Regions from separate parts of the Homo sapiens genome. Here region 2 is linked to region 1. The links are contacts of gene promoters, found by promoter capture Hi-C in blood cells and fetal thymus (Javierre and others, 2016). All regions are on one chromosome and are shown on one strand. The core of a region is centred on a gene start or on the middle of the fragment in contact, and the rest is flanking DNA. Distances in the headings are between cores, read along the strand shown.

Evidence for each region. Contacts are between HindIII fragments. The CHiCAGO score rates a contact against its expected background, and 5 or more counts as called.
Region 2: a contact is called between a fragment that was not itself captured here and the fragment with the promoter of NCBP3 in region 1, in 1 of 17 cell types (erythroblasts). The highest score is 5.3, in erythroblasts.

What each region holds. Positions count from the first base shown.
Region 1 is chr17:3,842,624-3,848,743 of GRCh38, forward strand. NCBP3 (nuclear cap binding subunit 3) reads right to left here and starts at 3,623. Exons shown (of 13, transcript NM_001114118.3): 1 at 3,418-3,623; 2 at 463-528. The coding sequence starts at 3,600. RefSeq lists silencers at 3,322-3,611, 3,792-3,911. The HindIII fragment of the contact is 12,990 bases long and covers 1-6,120 here.
Region 2 is chr17:4,106,853-4,112,972 of GRCh38, forward strand. It overlaps ZZEF1 (zinc finger ZZ-type and EF-hand domain containing 1), which reads right to left. Exons shown (of 55, transcript NM_015113.4): 5 at 5,757-5,956; 6 at 2,801-3,011. Among named protein-coding and RNA genes, the nearest start is that of ZZEF1, 33 kb to the right of the region's middle. The HindIII fragment of the contact is 378 bases long and covers 3,189-3,566 here.

The DNA of each region.
Region 1 (6,120 bases), core at 2,373-4,872:
TGCCTGTACCGTTTCAGGATGCATGAAGACATCGTTGTATAACACAAAATTTTTTTTTGTTGCCCCCACTGGAGTGCAGTGGCACGATTTCAGCTCAGTGCAGCCTCAACCTCTCAGGCTCCAGCGATCCTCCCACCTCAGCCTCTTGAGTAGTTGGGACTACAGACCTGTGCTACCACACCCGACTAATTTTTGTATCTTTCGTAGAGACGGGTCTCACTATGTTGCCCAGGCTGGTCTCGAACTCCTGGGCTTAAACGATCCACTTGCTTGGCCTCTCAAAATGCTAGGATTACAGGCATGAGCCAGCGTGCCTGGCCAATAACACAATTTTTTTTAGAAAAAAAATTTAAATCCAGCAACAAAATAAAAGAGGAAATATTTACTGTTATGTCCTAGGGATCAAATTCATTAAGTTCACTTGCTTATCAAGCTGAATAAATAAATCATAGCCTGTCTTACCTTGGAGGTGACATCAATTCCAGTGATGAAGCTGCCAGCCTTGTTTTCATATCTTCTGCTCGTGTCCTAACACAAAGGGGAAGGGTGAGAAATTCAGACAGCAATTGAGGAAAAACCTATAATAAAAGTCGGCCTGACATCTGCAGGTTCTTTTTTCCTTTTTTTTTTTTTTTTGTTGGTGACAGTGTCTTGCTCTGTTGCCCAGGCCGGAGTGCAGTAGAATGATCACAGCTCACCGCAGCCTCGACTCCCCAGGCTCACGCCATCCTCCCCCTCAGCTGGGCCCTCAGGCATATGCCACCATGCCCAGCTAATTTTTTTTTTATTTTGTAGAGACAGGGTCTCCCTATGTTGCCCAGGCTGGTCACCAACTCCTGGGCTAAAGCAGTCCTCCTGCCTCAGTCTCCCAAAGTGTTAGGATCACATGTGTGAGTCATCACAACCAGTCTGGTTCTTTCTGTTTTTCTGTTTGTTTTTTGAGATGGAGTCTCACTCTTATCGCCTAGGCGGGAGTGCAGTGGCACAAACTCGGCTCACTGCAACCTCTACCTCCTGGGTTCAAGCGATTCTCCTGTCTCAGCCTCCTGAGTAGCTGGGATTACAGGCATGTGCCACCACCGCCAGCTAATTTTTTTATTTTTAGTAGAGACGAGGTTTCACCATGTTGGCATACTGGTCTCAAACTCCTGACCTCGGTGATCCGTCTGTCTCAGCCTCCCAAAGTGCTGGGATACAGGCATGAGCCACCACACCTGGCAAGTCTGGTTCTTTTTGAATAGCCACTCTTTTCAAAACCCTTCCCCACCCCTGACAACCTTTTATTAAGAAGCCCCATCCTAGTGATTCCATGGTATCAATCAACCACTCCAATAAGAAGATCAGAGCCTGTCCAAAAACTGAAGTGATTCCATCAACTCCAAGTATCCATGTAAAGAAAATCTAAAGGCTTTTGTGGAAAATGTCAAAAGATAAGGCACAGTCACTTAGCTCCCCAACCCAGTCTGAACGAATTCCTCATGCCCAGCCACCAGGTGGAGCACAACCCTCCACCTCAACGCAGAAGGTCCAGCCTCACCTAGAACTCCTGAGGCAAATACAGCACAGTGCAATGCAAAGGGGATGGGATTTGGAAACCAAGCGAGGACTGAAGCCTCAGCTCTGACAGTCACTAATTACAGGACACTGTATAGTTTTCTTGACCTCTCTGGGTCTCAGTTTCCTCTGTGGTATCTACCTGCCTTCCTGACCTCTTTTACTGCCCTTCCATTAGTACTACAGAAGTTTCCAACAATCCTGGACCCATCCCAGAGCCTCTGTGCTTGTTACTGGCCCTGCTGGGGGAACTCCTTTTCAATCTTCACAAGATTGGCTTTTTGTCATTTAGAGTTTATATGGAACATAAACTCCAGGAGGGAGGTTGAGCTTGATCAAGCACCTAGGGCTGTGCCTTGGTACATAGCGGGGGATGCAATAAATACATGTTGGCCGGACGCAATGGCTCAGGCCTGTAATCCCAGCACTTTGGGAGGCAGAGGCGGGCGGATCACCTGAGGTCAGGTGTTCGAGACCAGCCTGGCCAACATGGAGAAACCCCGTCTCTACTAAAAATACAAAATTAGCCGGGCACGGTGGCACATCCCTGTAATCTCAACTACTTGGGAGGCTGAGGCAGAAGAGTAGCTTGAACCCAGGAGGCGGAGGTTGCGGTGAGCCAAGATCAGGCCATTGTACTTGGCTACTCAGGAGGCTGAGGCAGGAGAATGGCTTGAACCCGGGAGGCGGAAGTTGCGGTGAGCCGAGATCGCGCCATTGCGTTCCAGCCTGGGCAACAAGAGCGAACTCCGTCTCAAAACAAAACAAAACAAAAACCATGTTGAACTGAATGACTAAAGGGATGATAACACCTGCTTCACAACTGCAGTAATATTTATTTATTTTGGTTTTGTTTTTGAGATGGGGAGAGGGGAAAGGGGGGACCTCAAAGGGGTCTTGCTATATTGCTGAGGCTGGTCTGGAACTTAGACTCCTGAATAGCTGGCACTAAAGGCGTGCACGGCCAGTATATTTAAGTGACACAATATAGTGAATGGTAAATGCTACTATATTAGCTGTTGTTAATCATAATTATAACGTTTGCCATCTCTAGCGATCATACTTTAACCTTTCTCCATAACTTCAGTCTAAATATGTTGACATGTGGTCAAAAGTAATTCATGTTAGGTGAGAAATTAAGAGGAGTCATCCAGGCCTGAAACCAGCTCTGAGAACTGGATATACAGCCACCAAGTCACAAGCAAAACACCTCTCACCATCCCCAGCGCGGTAAAGGAGGGACCAAGGATGTCTATTGGTCGTCTGCTAGTTTGCTTTCATTAAGAGTCAGATGCTGGGGCCACGGTGTAGGTGTCACTGGAGCTGCGGGGGGGGCAAGATGACCCCGAAGTCACGACAGAAACAGTGAGTTTCTGCTGCTGACAAGTGCAGCCCTCTCAAGACAAAGAGCGAGTGCCATGTTTCCCAGATACAAATTCCTCCGGGGCAAGACCCACAAGGAGACCTGGTTGCTGGCGCCACCCAACAGCTCCTTCTGGGCTGCCCCTGGTTCTGTTCCCGCCCAGGGCTCCCCCTTTATCTCATCCTTCCAGCCCCTCCTCACTCACCTCCTTGCACAGCGCGGCTCAGAGGGGGCAGCGGAGGGGGGTCCTCAACTCCCTCCCAGCTCTCCGCCACCACCCCCCAGCCCCCTCAACACCCATTTCCGGCGCCCCGGCGTCCTTTCTCCCGCTCCGCGTCCCTCCTCCAGCCCGGCGTTCCCGTTCCCAGGACGCTGGCTCCCTCCTCTCCCGCTCCCTTGACTTCCCCGGCTGGGGCTCCGGCCACCGCCCCTTCCGGCCCCCTCCGGCGCTAGACACTAGCCCCGCGACCTCTTCCTTACCCCCCGACCCCCGCCCGTACCGGGATCAGTTCCTTGAGCGAGCGCCGCACAGGCACGATTTCCAGCTCGCCCTCCTCCACCTCCATGGGCTCCGGCTCGCCACGGTCAACACCGGACTCCGCCTCAGGGGACGGGAGCCCCAGGGCCGGCCCCGCCGGGGCCTCCGCCTTCACCGACACCCGCAGGCCCCGTACGGCCGCCATCGCTGCCTGCCGGCCGCACCACTGAGAGCCCGCCCCTCACGGCCGCCGGCTAGAGCGCCGCTGCCACTGGCCACAGAGGAGCCGCCGCAGCTACCTAGAGCGTCGCCGGCTTCGGCCCAGAAGGCCGCCCTTAGCGCCGCCGCCCCCTGGTGGCGGGAGAAAACCGGGCCGGCTGCGCGGGCGGGACCTGGGGAGGAGAAGGCGGGACTGAGCGGGGACGGGGGCGGGGCCTGCGGGAACTACGGAGCTTGGAGGAGACCGGGGTAGTCAAGGGTTACAATGTAGCTACGCCTTGAGGCTAAAGCTGTACTAAAAGCCAACTTTCCTGAGTGATCACTATGGGCCAGACACTTCCAAGCGCTCGAACCCTTAGAACAACTCTATGAAGTAGATCCTATTTTGACCCCCATTTCATATATGAGGAAACTGAGGCATAGAAATTGACCCAAGGTGACGCCATTTAAGGGATAAAAGCTGGATCTAAGTCTTCCAGAGTTTACAATGAGCCTTGATATATCACCTCTGGACAATCTGTAGGTTTATAAAGTTACTTGCCTTGCCAGTCTTTGTCTCTTAAAAGTCTCCCCAAAATTGGCCCATGTTACATACACAAAAATTGAGACTCCAAGAGGGAGAGACCTGCCCAAAGGCCAGAACTTGGACGCCGATTTCCTGACTCCTGAGGGTGCCATCCACTGTAGACCTGTGAGCATAGTTTCCGGCGGATATTTCTAACGAGAGCCTGGTGGGGGAGAGGGGTTGTCTACGCGTCCCGAGGGTGTCACTGATCAGCTGCTGTTCTGAGTCCTGATTTTCTTTTTCTTTCTTTCTTTCTTTCTTTATTCCTTTCTTCCTTCCTTTCTTTCTTCTTTTCTTTCTTTCTCTTTTCCTTCCTTCCTCCCTCTCCTCTTTCTTTCTTTCTTTCTTTTTTTTTTTTTTTTTTGTAGAGACAGGGTTTCACCATGTTGACTAAGCTGGTCTCGAATTCCTAACCTCAAGCGATCCACCCGCCTCGGCCTCCCAAAGTCTTGGGATTACAGGCATGAGCCACCGCGCCCGGCCTGAGTCCTGATTTTGCATCTTCCTCCCTGGGTAACCTTGGACAGGTTTTTGGGTCTGTTTTCCCATCTGAGGAGGGCATAGGTGAGACCCTACAGTCTCTGAGGCCCTGAGGCCCTACCAGCTCTGACCATGGAGGAGCAAATAATGATAAACCAAGGAAGAGCATGGTCAGCATCAGACACACCTGGGTTTCGAGCTGGCTGGCCGGGCCCCATCCACCATGTGTGACCTTAGGCAAGCTGCTTAGCACTTTGGAGTCTCAGTTCCTTCATCAGTAAAATGGACCATTACCTACCTACAAAGGAGGTTGTGAGGGTTAAATGTGATAATTTATATGTAGATACAGGGTCCAACAGAAGGGGTGCAGTACATCACAGTTTTTCTTAAATTTGGGCTAAACCACAGGATAAACACAAGACAGAGCTCTTTAGAGGACTAGTTTTATTTGATGAATGGGACACAAAGTACTTTTAAAAATTGGGTTGAGGCCGGGCACGGTGGCTCATGCCTGTAATCCCAACACTTTGGGAGGCCAAGGCGGGCAGATCATGAGGTCAGGAGATCGAGATCATCCTGGCTAACATGGTGAAACCGTGTCTCTACTAAAAAAAAAAAATTAGCCGGGCATGGTGGCATGCACTACTTGGGAGGCTGAGGCAGGAGAATCACTTGAACCCGGGAGGTGGAGGTTGCAGTGAGCCGAGATCATACCACTGCACTCCAGCCTGGGCGACAGAGCGAGACTCCGTCTCCAAAAAAAAAAAAAAAAAATGGGTTGAATGCATACATAGAATATGTACGGGTGTGTGTGTGTGTGTGTGTTTAATTTCAAACAAAATGTGTAGTTGGGGTGGCCAGCTATAGGTAAGAGTCACAGCCCCCACCATTACTAGGCCTGTGGGGTTAGGGGATGGGAGAGGAGGAAGTAATCCCTCCTCAGCTATGGACACCAGGAGGCCAGTAGAGAAGGCTGGGCAGGCCCCTCACCCTGCTGGGGAGGATGCCTTGTTGCTTGAGGACGCAATTCGGTGAGGATTCAGTGTTGCAGTTCAGTGCCATCCAGAAGAGCCCCAGCACCCTGGCACACCAGCCGGCAGGTACATGAGGAGTCCAGGACAAGCCGGGACATCAGGCAAACACCAAGGCTCCTAGGCGCGTGTCAGGAAAGCCCTCTGTGCCTTGCTCTTTGTGGTCACCTTAGTCACCATCTCCCATCCCCTTTCCTGTTCGCGATGCAGCCTGCTGAGTTGGAGACACAGAGAATTTAGGAAGGTGGTAAGGGCTGATTTTCAAAAAGTTGAAAAACATGACTCTCAAACAGATGTAAAATGAACACATGTCAAAGCTGTTACCCAGTCATTAGAAAATGAGGAAACCAGTAGAAATATGAAGAATAGTTTGAAGGGGAACTTGAATGAATATGTGGTTGGTCAGTCAAAGGAATGCTGAGATGAATTT
Region 2 (6,120 bases), core at 2,128-4,627, 260 kb after region 1:
AGTCGCTTAATGATAATGGTAATGAAAATCCCTGAAACAATTTCATTTCTACATTTCAAAATAGAGACAATAAAGCAAAGCAAACACTGTCAGCTCGCACTCTGCCCTAGTTCTGTTCCTGTCTACACAATGAGCCATTTTGGGGTTGCACAAACATGGCAGCTACACACAGATGCAGCTGATCAGTGAGGTTTAATGCACACAAGTAGCATGCGATCATTTACTGAATTTATTTCCACTGATACAGGCAACACTTCTGTCCCAAAATATTCTTTTCCTTACCTATTTTTCCTCATTGATATTTTTTCAATAAATCTTTAATTTTAAAATAGATTTAGATCACTAATCTTAAAAAGGCAGGAGTGCATGAAAATATCATTGCAGATGAACTAGTAAAACTGAGCAGGGACACAGACTTTAAAATCTGTCCATTCTTCAACCACTTGCCACATCTTCAAAAAAAATATAGAAACCTCTTCCTTTTCCTGAAAATCCAGTCCACAAGATGGGACTGTGCAGTGCAGACATTTGTATGTGTCTGGGGAGTAAGGGGGAGTCGTCATGGTGGCCTACAGTGAGGTTTTAGAGCCTGAGCAGGGTGAGAAAGGTGTCTTCACAAAGGTACGGCCTGATATGGAATGCAGGCACCAAGTGAGGCAAGAAGGGTGGCCTGGCACAGGGTATAGGAACTCGAGGAAGATAAGAAGGGCATCTGTGCAAGGATGGCCACAGCAGCAGCTCTGCAAAAGATGCTGGAGCAGGAATGGGATAGGGAGGGTGTCCATGCAAGGGCAGGGGCAATGGGACACTGGTTACATAGAGGCGAACTGAGTAAGTACAAAAAATGTATTAAGGATCATGGGAAGCAAGTTTCTTAGTATCAGAGAAGGCAGTCACAAATAAAGAAATAGGCTGGGCATGGTGGCTCATGCCTGTAATCTCTGCACTTTGGGAGACCGAGGTGGGTGGATCTCCACCTAAAGAGCCCCTGATTCAGAAAAATGGCTGATTCCAGGACTAATGCAGGGAACATTCAAGATAAGCCTGGAATATCTTGTGTCAGAACATATGGAAGCATTCCGAGAATAATGAGACATGTCAAAAGGACACACAAGCCAGACTGCAGGGGTTGCCACCAGCCAACTCCAGGATAACATAAGCATCAAAACTGTGGCTGACTATAATCTAGTGCATAAAAGAGGAATCCACTAACATAAAGTTTTGATGAGGAATACGATATTTACATAGTCTCAAAGTACCGCCTTCAACGTATTTATTAATTATGAAGTGAAAAATATTTATTTTACAATGGAAAAGTCTGGCAAAAACCACTTTAATCAAGTGATCAAAGTTAACAAGACTGCATTAGAATGAGGACTATCTGAAGTTGTGTGCAACCCAATGGGATGCAATGAGAACAAAGCATCACTTCTATGATATTCCTGCTAGAGACAGATAACAAAACCTCAATCTGATCACAATAAAACATCAAATAAACCAGAATTGAAGGACACTCTTCAAAATAACTGACCTGTAATTTTCAAAAGTATCAGGGTCAAGGAAATACTGAGGAAAGTCAAGGAAATACTGAGGAATTGTTTCAGAATGAAGGAAACTAAAGAGAAAGGACAAAGAAATGCAGAGTGTTTCGCTGGATCCTTTTGCTGTAAGGGGCGTGACTGGGGCAACGTGCAAAACTTGCAGGGAGTCTGAGGATGAGATGGTGGCAACATAGCAATGTACACCAATGTGGATTTCCTGATTTCAATGGTTGTCAGTAAATGTTCTTGTTTACAGGAAATACACACTAAAGCAGCAGGAACGATGGGGCACAGGCAGGCAAATTACTCTCTAATGACTGAGGAAGAAATAAAAATTATTTGTTAAATGTAAACTTGCAGTGCTTCTCTAAGTATGAAATAATTTAGTGAGAATACATGCTACAACAGGAAGAAAGAACAAGGTATGGCCAACTATTAACCTTCAGAGCAGCAGTGTTATTTGCTAACAGTTTTACTCAATAGTGCTAACAAATCTCAAAAGATGTCTAGAGAACAAAATATTAGCAATCTCTTTTTGGCTGATACTCTCACCGCCTACACTATAGGTACCTATTATCAGTTACTGAATCTGCACAATACTAATATTTCAGTGCTGCTATAGCTGGTTGTATTTGTCTTATATGTTACTATTTGGTCTTTTTGCCCTAATGATTTTTTTTCAAAAGTACTCTACATTTCAAAAGAAATTAATTTAGTACCCTGAAAAGATTTCACTCATTCGTGGAAAGAGCCCTCAACTGATCCATTACTGCAGCCTGGTCTTGTGACTTCAGGAAAGGTCACAACATCTGCGTCTATAAAATGGGGTGATTTTCACAGGTACACTTCAGTGTCAGTAGGTAAAATAATAGACTGCATCTGAAAGGGCTTTATCCAACATCAAATCCTATAGAAACATGAGCAATTACTTCCCAATGGACAAGGAACAGGCACAGCATAAGTGACCTCCTCACAAGACTGGTCCACTTAGTGAGCTGATGAAGAACACTGTAGGAACTGTGTGACGAGGAGCAGGAAGGTGGAATGGGCACTTTTTCAGTCTGTAAAGTCAGAACGTCAATCAAAGAGAGATACACTGTGGAGCTGAGTGGCACGAACAGGAAACACTAGGGCACCTGAGGCCGAGCTGACTGAGCCACAACGATCAATGATGGAAGGCTGCTCAGTGATACGCCCTAAAGGATGATGGGAGAATGAGGGCATGTTGAGGGGGCTGGAACATAGAGAGAATGACTTACTGAGTATTGTGCAGCACTGTCTGGACAAAGGCGGGATTTGTCTCCATAGAAGCCGTCACCAGAGATGTCAGCAGAGACCAATACCATATTGCAGAAGCATCTGAGACTGAGACCCCAGACTTCTTAACTCTCTGAAAGCCAACAGCCCTGAGACCATGAATTCTAGTGTCGCAGCCATCGCTAAGACAACGCTTTATGTTAATCTGGACATCTGTCGAGCACAAACAAAAAATTCAGTATTGGATTAACTTCTTTAGGCAAATGCTGGGCTCCCAACTAAAAGCAAAATAGTAATAGACATTTTGAAAAGAAAATTCTGAAGGTACACTTTGATGACAGAAATAAATAGCATGTGCAATGGAACTAGTATATAATAAATTTGTCAAAAAGCTTTGACAAATCTAAGAAATCATAAGAATAATATGTAAAATTAAGGGTGATTTAAGTCTTTACAACAAAACTTCTTAGGAACTTAGGAGTCTTGAAAAAACTACACAAAGAACATTTTAAAACAAGCCTGTCTGAATACATGGTAAGAACATTTCTAGAATTCTTCCTAGGATTCTGAAATTTGGATTAAGTTATAGAACAGTGGCTGGCTTACAAGCAATTGTGAGAATTTATTTTTAATAATCAAATCCAAACAGATGACACAGACATGACTCACTTTTAAGAGATGTCACAATTTCTTATTTGGGTCAGAGGAGAGAAGGTAAGAATTTAAAAAGGACACAACTTAGAGAAAAGATCACAATATAAGACAGGAAGCTTCTAACCCACAGGCCTAACTACTTATTTGCTAGGGGTGAGACACAAAGACTCTACCTCCCTAGGCCTCAGTTCCTTTGAGCAAAGAACACTTCTTTTGGCCCAGGAAAGCATTAGAAGAAATGAGATAAAACATGAAGCATTCCGGCTCCCTGAACGAAATAAGCCCAGAAAGCAATCACAGAATTGTGATTATTTCCAAAATGCTATGTTTAAAGCAAGGTTATAATGGTATAAAATTGGAAACAATCTAAATGTCCAAGAATGAGGGGTGGGTTAAAATTACGGCTTTTTTTTTTTTTTTTTTTGAGATGGAGTCTTGCTCTGTTCACCCAGGCTGGAGGAGTGCAGTGGCACAATCTCAGCTCACTGCAACCTCCGCCTCCTGGGTTCAAGTGATTCTCCTGCCTCAGCCTCCCAAGTAGCTGGGATTACAGGCATGCGCCACCACGCCCGGCTAATTTTTGTATTTGGTAGAGACGGAGTTTCACCATGTTGGCCAGGCTGGTCTAGAACTCCTGACCTCAAGTGACCTGCATGCCTCAGCCTCCCAAAGTGCTGGGATTGGAGGTGTGAGCCACTGCACCCAGCCAATTACGGCATATTTTTACAACACTAAATAAGGATATTCGTGAATATAACACACTCTAAAAAATTACAAAAGAACATGCAAAGAATATCAACATTTTTGTAAAAAGATATGTATAGATTTATGTGAACAGATACATACAGCTCTATTTTTTAGGAAAAAAGGTGTGTAGATATGTGTGCATATATGTGTGTGTATGTAAACCATACACACACTTACACACACAAATACACACACACACGGAAAGGTCTGCAAGGATCCACATCAAGGCAATCATAGTAACAATCCCTGGGTAGTAGGATTTGAGTATTTTTGTTTATATTTTTCTAATTTTCCAATATGAAAATGTGAATAAAATTATTTTTAATGGGCCAGTGCAGTGACTCATGCCTGTAATCCCAGCACTGTGGAAGGCCGAGGCGGGCGGATCATGAGGTCAGTAGTTCGAGACCAGTCTGTCCAACATAGTGAAACCCCGTCTCTACTAAAAATACAGAAAATTAGGTGGGTATGGTGGTGTGCGCCTGTAATCGCAGCTACTCGGGAGACTAAGGCAGGAGAATTGCGTGAACCCCGGAGGTGGAGGTTGCAGTGAGCTGAGACTGCACCACTGCACTCCAGCCCAGGCGACAATGCGAGGCTCTGTCTCAAAAAAAAAATATATAGAAAAAACATATATATTACACATATAAGCATACACAATATATAAATATGTATAAACATATATAAAAACATATTTTATATATATGTTTATATATATATATATATTTATAATCCCAACGTTTTGGGAGGCCAAGGTAGGAGCATAAAGGCCAGGAGTTTGAGATCAACCTGGGCAACACAGTGAGGCCCCATTTCTACAAAAAAGTGTAAAGAAATTAGCCAGGCATCGCGGTGCATGTCTACATTCCAGCTACTGAGACTGAGGCAGGAAGACTGCTTGAACCCAGGAGTCTGAGGTTACAGTGAGCTATGACTGTACCACTGCACTCCAGCCTGGGTGACAAAAAGAGATCCTGTCTAAATATATATATATATATATATATATATATATATATATATATATATATATATATATATATATGTTTTGTTTTGTTTTTAATGAAAAAAATGATTTCACTGTTCTTCTATAATTTCCTTCTTTTTTTTGGTTTGAGATGGAGTCTTGCTCTGTCACCCAGGCTGGAGTGCAGTGGTGTGATCTCAGCTCACTGCAGCCATAGCTTCCTGGGTTCAAGTGATTCTTCTGCCTTAGCCCCCCAAGTGGCTGGGATTACAGGTACCCACCCCCACGCCTGGATAATTTTTGTATTTTTAGTAGAGACAGGGTTTCACCATGTTGGCCAGGCTGTTTTCGAACTCCTGATCTCAAGTGATTCACCTGCCTTGGCCTCCCAAAGTGCTGGGATTACAGGCGTGAGCCAGCATGCCCCGACGCTTTTCTATAATTTCTACAACACTTAATGAATGAAATAATGAACACTTTTGTGTACGTCCTAAGAAGCAAACCGAATCTCAAAAACTAACAGCCTCTTCACTTCAAAGTAAAAAATACTACTCCCTTGCTTTTCCCTATCCCCTCAGTTCTGTTGGACTTACAGAGCTGACTGACGTTGGCATTTTCCAGCAGCGTCACATAGCCAGTGACATTGCTGGGGATGTGCACATCTCGGACTTCCTGAAGATCGCTGGCATTCCTCCCTACAGCTACTGTCACCTGCTGTGGCATGTAGCTCTGGTCAGTGGCAGCCACTGCAATGGACAGGTGCCTAAGCACAACATCTGGCTTCATTTTTAAACTGGAAAACACAAAAAGCAGAAATTACAAATGTTTATAGGAGTCAAGAACTGACAGGATCCAGAAGTCCCACCTCAAAGAGCTTACATTTGATATATCCAAAGACTGGTTTTCCTAACAGCAACTAACTTGAAATGCTGGCTATGAGTTTCAAAGTCCTTCTGA